Linked DNA regions of Homo sapiens: region 2 is linked to region 1. Evidence: promoter capture Hi-C in human tissues and cell types (Jung and others, 2019). All regions are on one chromosome and are shown on one strand. The core of a region is centred on a gene start or on the middle of the fragment in contact, and the rest is flanking DNA. Distances in the headings are between cores, read along the strand shown. Region 1 holds the start of ZNF335 (zinc finger protein 335). Region 2 holds the start of LOC124904912 (a long non-coding RNA gene).

Region 1 (7,333 bases), core at 2,776-5,275:
TGGACGGAAGAGATCCTGGGACTTCCTCTCTTCCAGCCTCTCACCATCAATCTCCTCTCCACTTGCAACCTCAGGGACCATCTTTTTAGCCACCTTCTGCTTCTGGGTCCAGCCAACACCATTGTTTGTGGTTAGCTCCTTCTTACCAGCCCATGAGCTCCCAGATTCGTCAGAATTATTCCACTGAGGTGGAGGCAGCCGTGAACCACCTGCTCAATTTGCACCTGCAGGCCTCCTCATCTGCCTCTCTCTGGGCTTCTACTTACACTGTGACGATGTGGCTTGGGAGGGCGTGGGTCACTTCTTCCACGAATTGGCCGAGGAGAAGCGCAAGGGTGCCTTAAAGATGCAAAACCAGTATGGCGGCTGCATTCTCTTCCAGGACATCCAGAAACTGGCCCAAATTGAGTTAGATAAGACCCTGGACACGGCTGGACGTGGTGGCTCATGCTTGTAATCCCAGCACTTTGGGAAGCCAAGGCAGGTGGGTCAGTTGAGGTCAGGAGTTCAAGACCAGTCTGGCCAACGTGGTGAAATTGTATCTCTACTAAAAATACAAAAAAAATTAGCCAGGTGTGGTGGCACACGCCTGTAGTCCCAGCTACTAAGGAGGCTGAGGTGGATCGCTTGAACCTGGGAGGCAGATGTTGCAGTGAGCTGAGATCACACCACTGCACTCCAGCCTGGGTGACAAAAAAAAAATAATAATAAATAAATAAATTTTAAAAACCCTGAATGCCACGGAAGCCGCCATGGCCCTGGAGAAAAATCTGAACCAGGCCGCTTTTGGATCTTCAAGCCCTGAGTCCTGCCCGCACAGACCTCCATCTCTGTGACTTCCTAGAGAGTCACTTCTTAGATGAGGAAGTGAAACTCATCAAGATGGGCGACCACTTGACCAACCTTCCCAGGGTGGCTGGCCCCCAGGCTGGCCTGGGTGGGGTTCTCTTGGAAAGGCTCACCCACCCTCAAGCACGACTGGGAGCCTTAAGGGCCCCTCCCAAAGTATCAGGGCTTCTGCCTAAGCCTCTCCCTCCAGCCACTAGGCAGCTTTTTAATTACCCTGGAGCCTTCTTCCAAGCCTTGATCCAAATGGAAATAAAGCTCTGTGGAAGCAAATTAAAAAAAAAAACAAAACATGACTCAGAAAGCACACACACTGCCTGGCATCTTCCCTCCTCTTTCCCTCTTGGCTCTTCTACATTTTTCTCAATGGTCCACTTTAATGTCCTCTGACCCAGAGCCCCTTCACTGCTTCCATAAGTCTCTCTAAGCTGGGGCCATGGAGTTCGAGACCAGCCTGGGCAAAATAGCTAGTCCCCATCTTTATAAACAATTTTTTAAAAGATAAAACAAATTTTAAAGAGAAAACAAAAAAATAAAGCTGAGACCAGAACTAGACTGCACTCTCTGGAGGAACAAACCCTGGATTCACAGGCAGAATACAAGGATTTGCCTGCTTGTCTTTGTGATGGAAGGGTTCTGGTATGTTGTTTCCAAGGAGCCGAGACCTTGGGCTGTTAGCTTTCCCCCTCTGGGCCTTGGGCTCCTCTTCGGTTTCATGATGAGTCTGTTTCATCTGTACCATGACATTCTGCAATCTTGTGATGCTGTGGCAAAGGCCAGGATTAAGGTTGAGTCTTTTTTTTTTCTTTTTAATAGACAGGGTCTCACTCTCTCACCAAAGCCAGAGTGCAGTGGCGCACTCATAGTTCACTGCAGACTCTACCTCCTAGGAGGCTTCAGTCTTAGTGGGGAAGGGAATGAGGGTACTGTGGGGCTACTTCGGAGTACCCCAAACTTGGGAGAGGTGACTTGGTCAGATGTAGGATGCACCCTACTACCCTACTGGCATGAGGGGGCAGATGCTTCTGTAGGGCTGAGGAATGGGGTCCACACGGGAAAACTGCCTGGAGATAGTAAAACCAACATGTCATCATGCCAGTGCTGACCTAGCTCTTCAGAGCTGCTCTGGGGCCTGGTCCTGCTGGTTGCAAGGGATAGGGGATGAGGGTCCTAACCTATCCAGAGGCCTCCTGTTCCATTCCCTCAACCCAAAAGGGAAACCTAGGAAAGAAAACTTTACCTAAGAAAAGGACCAGATGAATCCCCTCATACACAAGTGCACACAAATAACAGCTCAAAGCACCCTTTGTCCTTTTTATTTTTATTTATTTATTTATTTTTTGAAGCGGAGTTTCTCTCTTGTCGCAATGGCACAATCTCGGCAACCTCCGCCTCTGGGCTTCAAGCGATTCTCCTGCCTCAGCCTCTCGAGTAGCTGGGACTACAGGCGCGCGCCACCACACCCAGTGAAATTTTGTATTTTTAGTAGAGACAGTTTCACCATGTTGGCCAGGCTGGTCTCGAACTCCTGACCTCAAGTGATCCACCGGCCTCAGCCTCCCAAAGTGCTGGTTATTACAGGTGTGACCCACCGAGCCCGGACCTTTTCTCCTTATTAATAGGTCTTCTCCTTAGGACTTTTTGTTTGTTTGTTTGAGACAAGAGTTTCCGCTGTTGTTCCCCAGGCTGGAAGGCAATGGCGTGATCTCGGCTCACCGCAACCTCTGCCTCCCGGGTTCAAGCTATTGTCCTGGCTCAGCCTCCTGAATAGCTGGGATTACGGCATGCGCCACCACGCCCAGCTGCTTTTGTATTTTTCGTACAGATGGGGTTTCTCCATGTTGATCAGGCTGGTCTCAAACTCCCAACCTCAGGTGATCCGCCCGACTCAGCTTCCCAAAGTGCTGAGATTACAGGCGTGAGCCACCGCGCCCAGCCTGCTTAGGAGTTTTTTTGAGATTTTTTTCCCCCAAAATTTGTATCTTTCAATTAAGGAAAATAGCCTATGGAACTACAGAGACTTAGGGACAAAAACCAGAGCGCCTTACTCCCTCTTGTGCTCTTCCACTGCAAACTGCTAAAAGTCTTAAAACAGAAGGTGACATTTCCGGAGGAAGGACATACCTTAAGGGCAGCTGACTTTTAATTAAAATTTTTTTTCTTTCTCCACTTTTAAAGGATAGGTAGTTGACTTGTATTTATTTATTTTTTGAAAGAGGGTCTCGCTCTGTCGCCCAGGCTGAAGTGCAGTGGTGTGATCACGGTTCGCTGCAGCCTCAACCTCCCAGACTCAAGCGATCCTCCCACCTCAGCCTCCCGAGCAACTGGGATTATAGGCACGCGCCACCATGCCTGGCTAATTTTTCTTTTTTTTCTTTTTTTTGTAGAGATGGGGTCTCGCTCTTTTGCCCAGGCTGGTTTGGAACTCCTGGGATCAAGCGATTCTCCTGCCTTGGCGTCCCAAAGTGTTGGAATTACAGGCGTGACTCACAGCGCCCGGCCTCAGCTCTATTAATGTTAACAAATATGTATACAAACCTAAGGGACAAGCATTAACTTCTTTCCATTTCCCCGACTCCTGCCATCCGTACTTAGCTCCTGAGTCCCTTTATTGGATGTGATTTTGGACCAGCCCTTCCCATACCCAGACCTCAGTTTCCCTATCTGTACAATAATTATACATTCCCTTCCCAACAAAACACATCAAACCTAACGGGCAGAGCTCGATTGGGTTGCAGCAGCGCGCTAAGTAATAAGTAATGAGTCAGGTAAAATGACTGACAACATGAATTCCTCTTTGGCCAAGCCAAAGTCGCCCGCGGCCACACGCTCTTCCGGGCTGTTGTAGGAGGGGCGCGGCCAAGCCACCGGGAGCCACGCCCCCCACTGGGAGCCACGCCCCAAGAGAGCGGGGCGCGCATTCGCCGCGCCCAACCCTGCGGCCTAGGGAAGGGACCAGAATGACGTCACAACCACTTCCTACGTAACACTCCGCCGAGATAAAGTAGTCCCCAAACCATAGTGGGCTCAGTGCCAAACACCGGGCGACGTATAAAGTCCCAGAGTCTGTTGAGACCCGATTATGGTTTTGAGGCCTCGGAGCGACCTTCCGGAACACTGAAAATGTGTCTTTCCCGGGGCCAGCGGGGGAAGTAGTTCCGGCCTACAATAGGCCGATGGGTTCCTCCGCAGCGGAGGAAAGAGGATGGCGACCTCGTCGATGCCGGAGTCAGAGAGGAACGTGGCTACGAAAGCCTCGGGTGAGCTTCGGGTAGAGTTAGGCGGCCCCACCGTACCCTGCCGTGGAGTGAGGTCACACTGCGGGGATACCCGGAGGCGAGGTCCCAGGCCGGCGGGGCTGTCCGAACAGGGCCCCGGGGTCCCAGGCCCTTTAGTCGCTCTCGCACTTGCCTGAGCGGAAACCCGGCGCCACCACAAGATGGCGTCGGGCCTGGAGCACAGGCAGCGCCGGGGACAGCCCCAAATCGCCAGGCCCCGAGACCGTCGCTGTCAGCCGCCTCCGCAGGGGAACCGGGGGGGAGCGAACCACTGACCCAGGGGGCCAGCGGGCTGTACCACCGGCCCTGCAACCCGGGGGGACGCGGGGGCCGAAGGGCTGAACCACTGGGCCCGGATGGGGCTCACAGAGCGGAACGCTCCACGAGAATCGTGGGGGCGAGGGAAAGGGTCAAGATTACCAGCCATTGACCACCCTCCCGGGAAGGGCCTTAGCCTGGGAAGCACAGCTTCTCCGTCAAGTTTTTCCCGAGCTCCCCTCGCAATACACCAGGAAGCTCCGCCCCGTCGGAGACTCAATCTTCGCATCTGCAAAATGGGCGCAGGGGTGCAAATGGGTGGCCGTGGTTGCCGGGGCTGGGGAGATGGCCCACTTGTTCCAGCCACGGTCACCTCTCTTCTCAGAGTGAAGTTCCCAGACCCTACGCCCCGCTGTCAGGCAGCCCGCCGATCAGATGGAGGAGAACGAGGTGGAGAGCAGCAGCGACGCGGCCCCTGGGCCTGGCCGGCCCGAGGAGCCCTCTGAGAGCGGCCTGGGTGTGGGCACCTCAGAAGCCGTGTCCGCCGACAGCAGCGACGCCGCGGCCGCCCCGGGGCAGGCAGAGGCCGATGACTCTGGCGTGGGGCAAAGCTCGGACCGCGGCAGCCGTTCTCAGGTATGGACCCGGCTGGACGGCGTGGGTGGAGGCAAGGACCGCGAGCAGCAGTGCCTGACAGCCAAGAGGAAACAAGGCTTGTTTGTAGCTAATACTTGGTGTTTCTGGTTTACTGTGAGCCAGGCACCAAGCCAAACCCCTAAAATGGATTTTCTCATTTGAGCTTCATACCTTCTAAGACACATACCATTTTTTCCCACATCTTATAGAAAAGGATGCCGAGGTACAGAGTGCAGACAGAGCCAGGATTCAAATCTAGGCTGTGGTCTTAGCTACTATACTACCCACAGTCCTCACACTTTGAGAGGCAGATGTCTAGGCCAGGAGTGGTAGCTCATCGCCTGTAATCCCAGCACTTTGGAAGGCTGAGGTGGGAGGATCACTTGAGCCCAGGAGTTGGAGACCAGCTTGGGCAAATAGCGAGACCTCATCTCTACAAAAAAAAAAAAAAAAACGCAAGTGCCCTGGGTTAAGACTGGGTCCTGCCTCCAGTTTACTGGGAGACCTCTTTGAGCCTCAGTATCCCGGCTAAAGTAAAGCAGAAATACTTGCTTTCAAGGGTGCTTGATTGTGAGCTCCCACCAGACATCCTCTTGCAAACATTTTGTAAACCATCTCCTCCTGGCTGTGCCACTTCCTAGCCGTGTGATCTTGAGCAAGCTACCCAACATCTAGCTCTGTTTCCTCGTCTGTAAAGTGGGAATGGTAAATATACCTGCCTCATAGAGTTTTTGTGAGGATGAAATGAATTAACATATGCAAAGCTAATAATTAAAACAGTGCTCAGCACATTGTAAGCACTCAGTAAGTATTAGCCATTCTTATATGCAAGATAATGGTCATATTCAGTATATCACGTGATAGAAGTACACAGCAGTGGTCATCACTTTGGGGTCCTGGGGTTTCATTAGTTCAGCAGAGATGGGGGCCTACCATGTGCTCAGCGTGTGCTGGGCCCTGGAAATACAGCAGAGGAAAAGACAAGTTTGGTCCAGGCCCTTGTGGAGGGCACAGTCTGGCATGGAGGCTGTTAAAAGGCACAATGAACCCCACAGTGGTGTGGTGCTGGGGACACAGGCAGCTGCAGCACTGAGGATGAAGAAGTCCTGACTTGGCCTCAAAGCCAGCATTGACTTCCTAGAAGAGGTACCAGCTAAATGGTGGTGAGAAGGCTGGGTAAGATTTAGCCATAGGGTGATGCTGGGAAGAGTTTCAGGCAGAGGGAACGATTTATGCAAAAGCCCAAAGAAAATAGCTCCCCCTGGCTGTGGCTTAGGAGTCCCTTCTCTTATTTTTGTGTATTCCCTGATGAGATCCAGGGACCCTGTGACTTTTTCCTGGGGGACTCTGTGACTGGAGGGCCTCTCTCACTGGTCCTCCGTGGGGCTGAGGGCATGAGTGGCTCCACTGACCATGTCCTTGGGCCTGAGAGCTCTGTCTAGCAAGTGGGAGCTGGCAGGCTGCCCTGCCCCATACCCAGCTGCTAAACTTTTTCCCTCCCTGTTTCATGCCCCTCAGGAGGAGGTATCTGAGAGCAGCTCGAGCGCAGACCCCCTGCCTAATAGCTACCTCCCTGATTCATCGTCTGTGTCTCATGGGCCAGTGGCAGGGGTGACAGGCGGTCCCCCAGCACTTGTGCACTCTAGTGCACTCCCAGACCCCAACATGCTGGTGTCCGACTGCACAGCTTCCTCCTCGGACCTGGGCTCGGCCATCGACAAGATCATCGAGTCCACCATCGGGCCCGACCTCATCCAGAGTGAGTCAGGCAGAGGAGCCCCACAGGGGTTTTCCTGCAGTGTCCGGCAGCCAGCTGTGCCCACCCTAGCTGTGTGAACTCAGGCAGATTACTTTCCCATGTGGAATGTGCAGAGTGGGAACAGTCACCCCTGTCTCATGGTGGTAAATGAGGATTTAATGAGACAACACTGTAAAGTTCTCAGCCTAGCGCCTGGCATGACAGACTCTCAATAAATAATATAAACTGTTATTGCTTACCTTGTGCCCAGGACTGTTCTAAACTTTACATACAGTAGCTCATTTAATCCTCCCAATAACCCCAAAAGGTAGAGGATGTTAATGTTCACAGTCCAGATGAAAAATATGAGGCACCAAGGACATACATAACTTACCCACTGTCACCAGCAAGCAGTGTGGGGTGTCGGGCCATGAGCTCAGACAGTCTGACTCCAGAGCTGTGTCACCCAGGCTGGAGTGCAGTGGTGCAATCATAGTGCACTGTAACCTCAGACTCTTGGGCTCAAGGGATTCTCTGCCTCAGCCTCCAGGGTAGCTGGGATTACAGGTGCACACCA
Region 2 (7,333 bases), core at 1,949-4,448, 1.0 Mb after region 1:
AGTTTGGTTCTGCTGCTGCTACAGATTTCCTAGGTAATTTTGGGCAAGTCTCTTGATTTATCTGATCAGTCTTCTTGATCACGAAGAGAGCTCAGGGAACAGGCTAACACAATGAACCCTTCCAGCAAGTCTATGAAGTGATATCCTCATGTGGTAGGTGGGCACGCATGATCAGAGGGATGGAGTGACTTGTCCGGATCGCAGGGTTGATGCCCTTTCCACCGCACCACTGCTGTTTCTGAGCAACCGTACTCTGGTGACTCAAGATGGATTACAGGTTTTGGGTACTTAGCTCCTTAAGGGCAAGGATGTATTTTACTAGTCTTTGTACTTTCCGTCTCTGGGCCTGGCAAAACAAGAGGGGAAAACGCTTGTTATTGTTGGTATTGAATGAAAGATATCAAATATCAACATGGCAACAGGATACTGAGTGAAAAAAGTAAGTTGCAGAAGGATAGGCAATATGATGCCTCTTAGGAAATGCTTTAATAGACATAAAATGGTATCTTTCCTGTTAACACACACACACACACACACATATATATACATATACATATATATACATGTACATGTATACATATATACATATACATATATACATATATATGTAAATGTAGAACATGCTTGAAAATGTTACATACCAACTTCAGGATTGTACTGGCCTCTGTGAGTCTGGGGAGGGAGCACAGGGATAAGGATGGGGATGGCTGGAGTTTTAGCTTATCAAAAAAATTTTTAAGGGTTGGGTGCCATAGCTCATGCCTATAATCCCAACACTTTGGGAGGCCAAAGCGGGAGGATCACTTGAGGCTAGGCATTCAAGACCAACCTGGGCAACACAGTGGGACTCTGTCTCTACAAAAACTTTAAAAATTAACTGGGCTTGGGGGTACACACCTGTAGTCCTATCTGCTTGGTAGGCTGAGCTGGGAAGATCACTTGAGCCCAAGAGTTTGAGGCTGCAGTGAGCTATGATTGTGCTACTACACTTCAGCCTGGGCAACAGAGGGAGACGCTGTCTCTAAAAATTAAAAAAGTTGGGAACTAATATAACGTGCTAAATCTAGTGGTGGATTCTGAGATAATGGTCTTCTGTATGTTTCAAAATTTTCAAAAAGAGACCCTGTTTTCAATTCTTTTTAAAATAATGGCCGACACTAGTGGGTATGAAGTGGTTGAAAATTATCTTTAAAAATAAAGATCATTGTTGGTTGGGCACGGTGGCTCACGTCTGTAATCCCAGTACTTTGGGAGGCCGAGGCAGGCGGATTGCCTGAGGTCAGGAGTTCAAGACCAGCTTGGCCAACATAGTGAAACCCTGTCTCTACCAGGCGTGGTGGCGAGTGCCTGTAATCCCAGCTACTCAGGAGGCTGAGGCTGAGGCAGGAGAATTGCTTGAACCCAGGAGGTGGAGTTGCAGTGAGCGGAGATCGCTCCACTGCACTCCAGGCTGGGCAACAGAGCAGGACTCTGTCTCAAAAAAAAATACGTAAATAAAGATCATGGTGGCCACAGTGAAGGACTTGAGCCTCTGCGATTCCTGAGGGTAAGGACTGCCTTAGAAGAATGTCTAATAATTCTCCCCATGGGGTAGCTTAAGACTTTTTCCTGATTAAGTTCTCTGTACTCCCATCACACCCAGCTCAATTATCATTTCCCTGACAAAGTCCTCCCTGGCTTGACCAGGTAAAACTAGTCTCATGTCTTTCATGGGTGTTTTGTGCCCCTACAACTTTTGGTCAATCCATTTATCATACGTTTATCATCTTGTTCCCTCCCTCCCTCCCTTTCTTTTCTTTTTTTTTTTTTCTTTCTTTCTTGGATTTAAATGCTTTTTGTAATAAAATACACACCTATCCATCCATTTATCCACCCAAACCCAAGTAGTTACAGCATGGATTTCTTTGAGGCAGAAGCTAGCTATTTCTTGTTTATCTTTTGTCTGTTATCAAGTTCAGTGCTGGAATGAGTGAATGAGGAAATACTTGGTTCCCTTTGAATGGCAAAAAGCGCAGTGTCCTTCTGTCACATAAGAATGACAAACACGCCAGCCCAGCAGACCAACAAGCCTGAACAGGTTATAGTTATCTCTACTGCCTTAACACAAGGCCCAAAGAGCTCTGAGTTTGAAATGTATCCTAATGCCCTGAGGCACCCATTTTCCAAACTGATCATCTTCCCCACTCTATCTGGGCAGGTTCTTCAGACCCAGAAGAAGAAAGTGTTCTCTACTCCAACCGAGCAGCATGTCACTTGAAGGATGGAAACTGCAGAGACTGCATCAAAGATTGCACTTCGTAAGTGGCCAAGGGTAATTTTGGGATGCCTGAGGGTCTCAGAAGAGGAGGCTGGGTTAATCTGGCTTGTTTCTTCTTTGGAAGGATCCCATCAATTACATCTGGGACAGATATTAAGAAAGTGTCACTGAGTTTCACCAGGTCACTGAGAATGGGAGTCTTTATTTGGTCCTTATGGCCCGTGACTTGCATCTTTGGAGTCTTGGCTCTGCTGCCGAAAAAGGAGTGGGATGGGCAGTTAGAAGCAGGCCGTAAAGTCTTTGTGCAATTTGAAACCTGGGAATAAGGTGGAGTGGCAGACCAGTAACTGGCTTGCCCAGGTGCTTTTCTGGGATGGGAGTATGTGAGGGGAAGGGAGCGAAGGAAAGAAGGAGGAATAGAGGTTAATAGATTGTCTCAGAAGGAGAAAGGAAAAAAATGGTATTCATGAATGACCAGTTTTAGAGGACACTGAACAATGTTTCATATCTCTTTTTCTTCAAGCCAGTCTAATATTCTTTTATCATCATTAAACTCTCACATTTACCTGAAATGTGTTCTCAGATCTGATGTCCTCTGACATTGCTTTAGATTCCTGCCCTGGTGATAGCCAGGAGAGCAGGAGGGGTGTGAGCATACTCACAGAGCCTGTGCTGAATTAATTTGTGCCATGCCTTGTGCCAGATTTCCCTCTTTGAGTGTTCACAACCAATCTGTGGGGTACGGTTACCATGTGTCCCAGGCCAGAACTTGGTTGCTGAGGGTTGGGGCAGTAAAGTGATTTACCTGGGTCACATAGTTAGCAGCAGAGGTGGAATTCAGACACCACCCCATCTGACTCCAAAGCTTGTTTGTTATTCCCACTAGACCACAACTGTAAAAAAACATAGTAGCATGAAAGCCATGAGGCTTTTGTTCTTGATTTTGGGGGAACTGAAACTATGAAAATTGATGCATGTGCACACACATTTAACAAAATTCATGTTTCTCTGCCTTCTTTCTCCTCCTCACTTCAGTCTACGTTGAAAAATCCCTGTTCTGAGGTTTGGCGTTTTTAGCCATGTCTCTCGGCCAGAAATTACTTCCTGTACGCTGAGTGCTCCAGATAACCCTGCCTGGAAGAAACTGTAGGGAAACCCTGGTGGCTCAGCAGCCAGCCAGTTGACATTTTTGCCTCCTATTCTAGAGCACTGGCCTTGGTTCCCTTCAGCATTAAGCCCCTGCTGCGGCGAGCATCTGCTTATGAGGCTCTGGAGAAGTACCCTATGGCCTATGTTGACTATAAGACTGTGCTGCAGATTGATGATAATGTGACGTCAGCCGTAGAAGGCATCAACAGGTGAGCTCCATTCCCAGCAGGTGGTCTCCACGGCAACTCCCTGTCCTTCTTGATTGGCTGCGGGCCATTGCCTTGTCTGTCTTCTGAGGGGATCCCTTTGGCTACACTTAAAAAACTCCCGATGGGCATGTAGGGGAAGCTGAGAAAGGAAAATCTGCTTTTTTATTTAGCAGGTTTTCAGGGAGTCAATTACTAAGATTGATTGATTGATATTTGCCTACATGTGCCTCACAGTATCTATGTACACAGTAATATTTATTGTACACTGTTTAAGGTGTTGTGCCCGGTTCAGTGGGGGATACCAAAATGAGAAAGAGATACAGACCCCACTTACCTTCAAAGCGCTAACGCTAATTAGAAGAATAAGACACAAGCCCAAGCAGCTATGACAAGCCTAAAAGGATATGGTTTGTGGACATGGTTCAGTATATTGCACTGTGACCAATCCAAGAGGTTCCCCAGGTGCAATTCCTTTCTGGTCTCTGAGCAGTTATTGGCTTTTATCTCATGGATATTGTCATTTGTATAACTGATCATGTTTCCCCTCTGCGTGTGCGGCTAGAAAGCCAAACACTGCACTAATAGCAAACCCTTAACAGGGACTTCATGGTATGTATTTAGTGCTTTATTTCTGGCTTGACTTGTCTGCCAGCATTCTTTGTTTTCTCTTTGCCTCCTTTTTAACTTATCTGATTCCACAAAATCTACCAATTATGTGACAGACTTTGCTCTAGGACCTGGGCTGATGACTGAGACATACCTCTTCCTGCCGTCATAGAGGTCCCGGTCTCAAGGAAGACACCAGTCAGTAATAGGCAAGCACAATACAACATGATAAGCGCCATGGTAGGAGGCAGCACAGGGGGCTCTGAGGCCAGAAAGGAGCCACCTAGCTAGCTGAGAGGGAGAGGGGGAGGCCAGAGAGAGCTTTTCAGAGGAGGTGAGCTAAGAATGAGAGATATGGGGTAGGGGGTTAGCCAGAAGACAGAGCAGCGTGTGCAAAGGTGAGCAAGTGTGACAGATCACAGGAATTGTAAGAAGTCGGTTTCACATGGTGCTGCAGGCAGGAGCTCAGCTTGGGACAGGTTGGTGAGGCCAAGTCACACAAGACCCAGGGTTCAGGGCTTGGACTTAATCCTGAGCAAGTCAGCCTTTATGAAAAGGTCTTTAGCAGTGGAGCAACATGAGCAGATTTGTATTTTAGAGAAAAGCTCTTTGCTGCCATGTTGAGGGATGATATGAAGGGCAACAGAATAGAAAGGAGTCATGCAGCAATCCAGGGGAGAGGGTGGAGAGAAAACAATGGGACCAGTCAGGGGACATGTAGGAAGTATATCAACAAGCTTTAGTGGTTGCGGGGTATCGAGAAGGGAGGAATAGAAGAAGACACTCAGATTATTGACATTCAGTCGGAGGTGACTGTGGGACATAAGACTAGAGATCTAAGTAGGACGGTTGGGTATTTACATGGAACAAAGGAAGAAAATACAGGCCAGACATAAGGATTTGAGGGTCATCAGCGCAGAGGTGGATTAGGGCTGTGAGAAAGAAAAAGAACATCACAGCTAGTGTGAAGAGGATGGAGCTTTGAGAAACTCCAGCATTTGAGGGACTTACAGAGGAACAGCAGCTAGAGAGGTGGGAGGAAACAGGGCATTGATGTCCCAAGGGAAGGAGTATTTCAAGAAAGATGGAGACATCATTAGTGTCAGGTGTTCCAAGGAGCTTACATTAAAGGTTTGGCAATGAAGTCACCGGTGGCTCTGATGGAAGCTGGTCAGTGGGATCAGGAGCCAGAGGGCAATGCTTTCAGAAAGTCAGGCTTGAAGAGAAGCTGGGGAGTATACCTGTGATGGCAAGGGGTGTCCAGTATGGTTTTATTAGGTGAGGAAAGAGTTAAAGGGACTTAAATGCTGACGGTTGGAGTTAGTAGAGAGGAAGGATGAAGATGTGGGAGAGGGAGGTGCTGCCTGGGTGTGGTCCCTGAAAGAGGCAAGAGGAGATGGGATCCAGAGCTTAGGTGGGTGGATTGGTCCCATTGTCTCTTCTGTTGTGACAGGAGAGAAATAGGAAGGATTGGGCACCCAGGCAGGTAGGTTTGTATTTGGGGTATGAGGAAGTTTGCTCTAAAAAAGGGGAAGGGCCAGGGAACAGGTTTGAGGAGAGCAGAGGTTTGAAATAGCTTGGCCGCCAGGAAAACAGCCTAGCCAGAGACATCTTGGAATTTGTAGTGATACAGTCTGTGGTTTTTATTCTTGTAATATAGGAAACATGGTTGTAGGAGCAGAAAAAGTATACAGTTAGCATTATTCACTCATTCAACACATAACTGATTGGGCCTTGGTGGTTGCTAGGTGACATACCAGGTGCTGGAGATCAGTTGACAGAATGAACTTGGTCTCTGGGTGGCATTTTAAGCTGAAATCTAAAGAATAAGTTGGAGTTAGCCGGGCCTGGAAGGTGGCAATCTTTTTCCAAAATGAAAATGGTTGTTCTGGGTAGAGGAAAAAGCATGTGCAAAGTCTTGAACAGAAGGATCAGAAGAGAATGTGGCTCACAGTGAAGGGGGACAGGAAGGGGTGGGGACCAGATCTCACATGCCACATTAGCCTAGGGAATTGGGAACCCCTGAGGAGTTGTAAGATTTGAGAATGACATAAGCTTTGCATTTTTTAAAAAGCCTGAGCATTAAACAAATGTCAGGTGCTTGCATGGTTGTGTACTTGATTCATTGATAAAATATGAAACAAAATGTATGATTCTTTCTTGGAGAAACTATAGTCTTTTTGGATCATGGTTTAAGTATCCTTAACAAGCAACAGATCACCACTTTAAAGGTAACATAGTTTGACCAAGCTCAAGGAATGTCATGGGGACTGATCTGAGATGGTGTTTATGGGTTCCTGTATTGCACGTGTTGGAGGAGCTAAAGAGGTGGTTCCGACCAGGGGGAGGGTGGCAGCTCTGGCTCTTCTGAAAAGGCCTACCTCCCATGGGTGTGTGAAAGGAGAAATATCTTCTTGACCCAGCTGGAAACCTCCCTGCAATCCTGCCTTCTTTTCCAGAATGACCAGAGCTCTCATGGACTCGCTTGGGCCTGAGTGGCGCCTGAAGCTGCCCTCAATCCCCTTGGTGCCTGTTTCAGCTCAGAAGAGGTGGAATTCCTTGCCTTCGGAGAACCACAAAGAGATGGCTAAAAGCAAATCCAAAGAAACCACAGCTACAAAGAACAGAGGTGAGCTGTGACTCCCTGCCCAGAGTCTTGCAATCTCCCACTATCCATTTTCTTTAGAGTAGTCCTGCAAAAATTGGCATTGTTTAGCTGAGTTATAAAAATAATCTTAGGAACAAAGTATAAAACAAAATACAAGTCTTCACCTCTTAGAGACTGTTTTCTCAGCTGTATAGTGAGGGTGATGATAAAGTCTTCCTCACAACCATGAGGACTGAATGACATAAGACATGTAAAACTCCCAGCCTGGCACATAGGCATGCAGTGTGAGTTCCCTTCTCTTTCCTCTGGTAGCACTTGGGATGTAGTACTTAGGATGTTTTTGGTTGCAAAAACAGAAAGCTCAACATGGTAAACATAGTATAGGGAATTTATTGGCTCATAAAACTGAAAAATCCGAGAGAATTCAGGCAAGGTTTGCTCCAGCAGCTCAGTATATTAACAGACTAACTCCATTTTTCTGTACTTATCACAGCTTTATTTTCT

What was found. Contacts are between HindIII fragments. The study calls those that stand out against the background at their distance.
Region 2: a contact is called between a fragment that was not itself captured here and the fragment with the promoter of ZNF335 in region 1, in 1 of the 25 tissues and cell types used here (spleen).

Annotation. Positions count from the first base shown.
Region 1 is chr20:45,968,895-45,976,227 of GRCh38, reverse strand. It overlaps ZNF335 (zinc finger protein 335), which reads left to right and starts at 4,025. Exons shown (of 28, transcript NM_022095.4): 1 at 4,025-4,106; 2 at 4,768-5,018; 3 at 6,537-6,777. The coding sequence starts at 4,818. It also overlaps the pseudogene FTLP1. RefSeq lists enhancers at 409-945, 3,404-3,623 and a silencer at 4,394-4,513. The HindIII fragment of the contact is 24,986 bases long and covers 1-7,333 here.
Region 2 is chr20:44,951,350-44,958,682 of GRCh38, reverse strand. TOMM34 (translocase of outer mitochondrial membrane 34) reads left to right here. Exons shown (of 7, transcript NM_006809.5): 2 at 2,198-2,297; 3 at 3,463-3,615; 4 at 6,681-6,850. It overlaps LOC124904912 (a long non-coding RNA gene), which reads right to left and starts at 3,467. Exons shown (of 2, transcript XR_007067599.1): 1 at 3,063-3,467; 2 at 1-346. The HindIII fragment of the contact is 7,243 bases long and covers 1-6,819 here.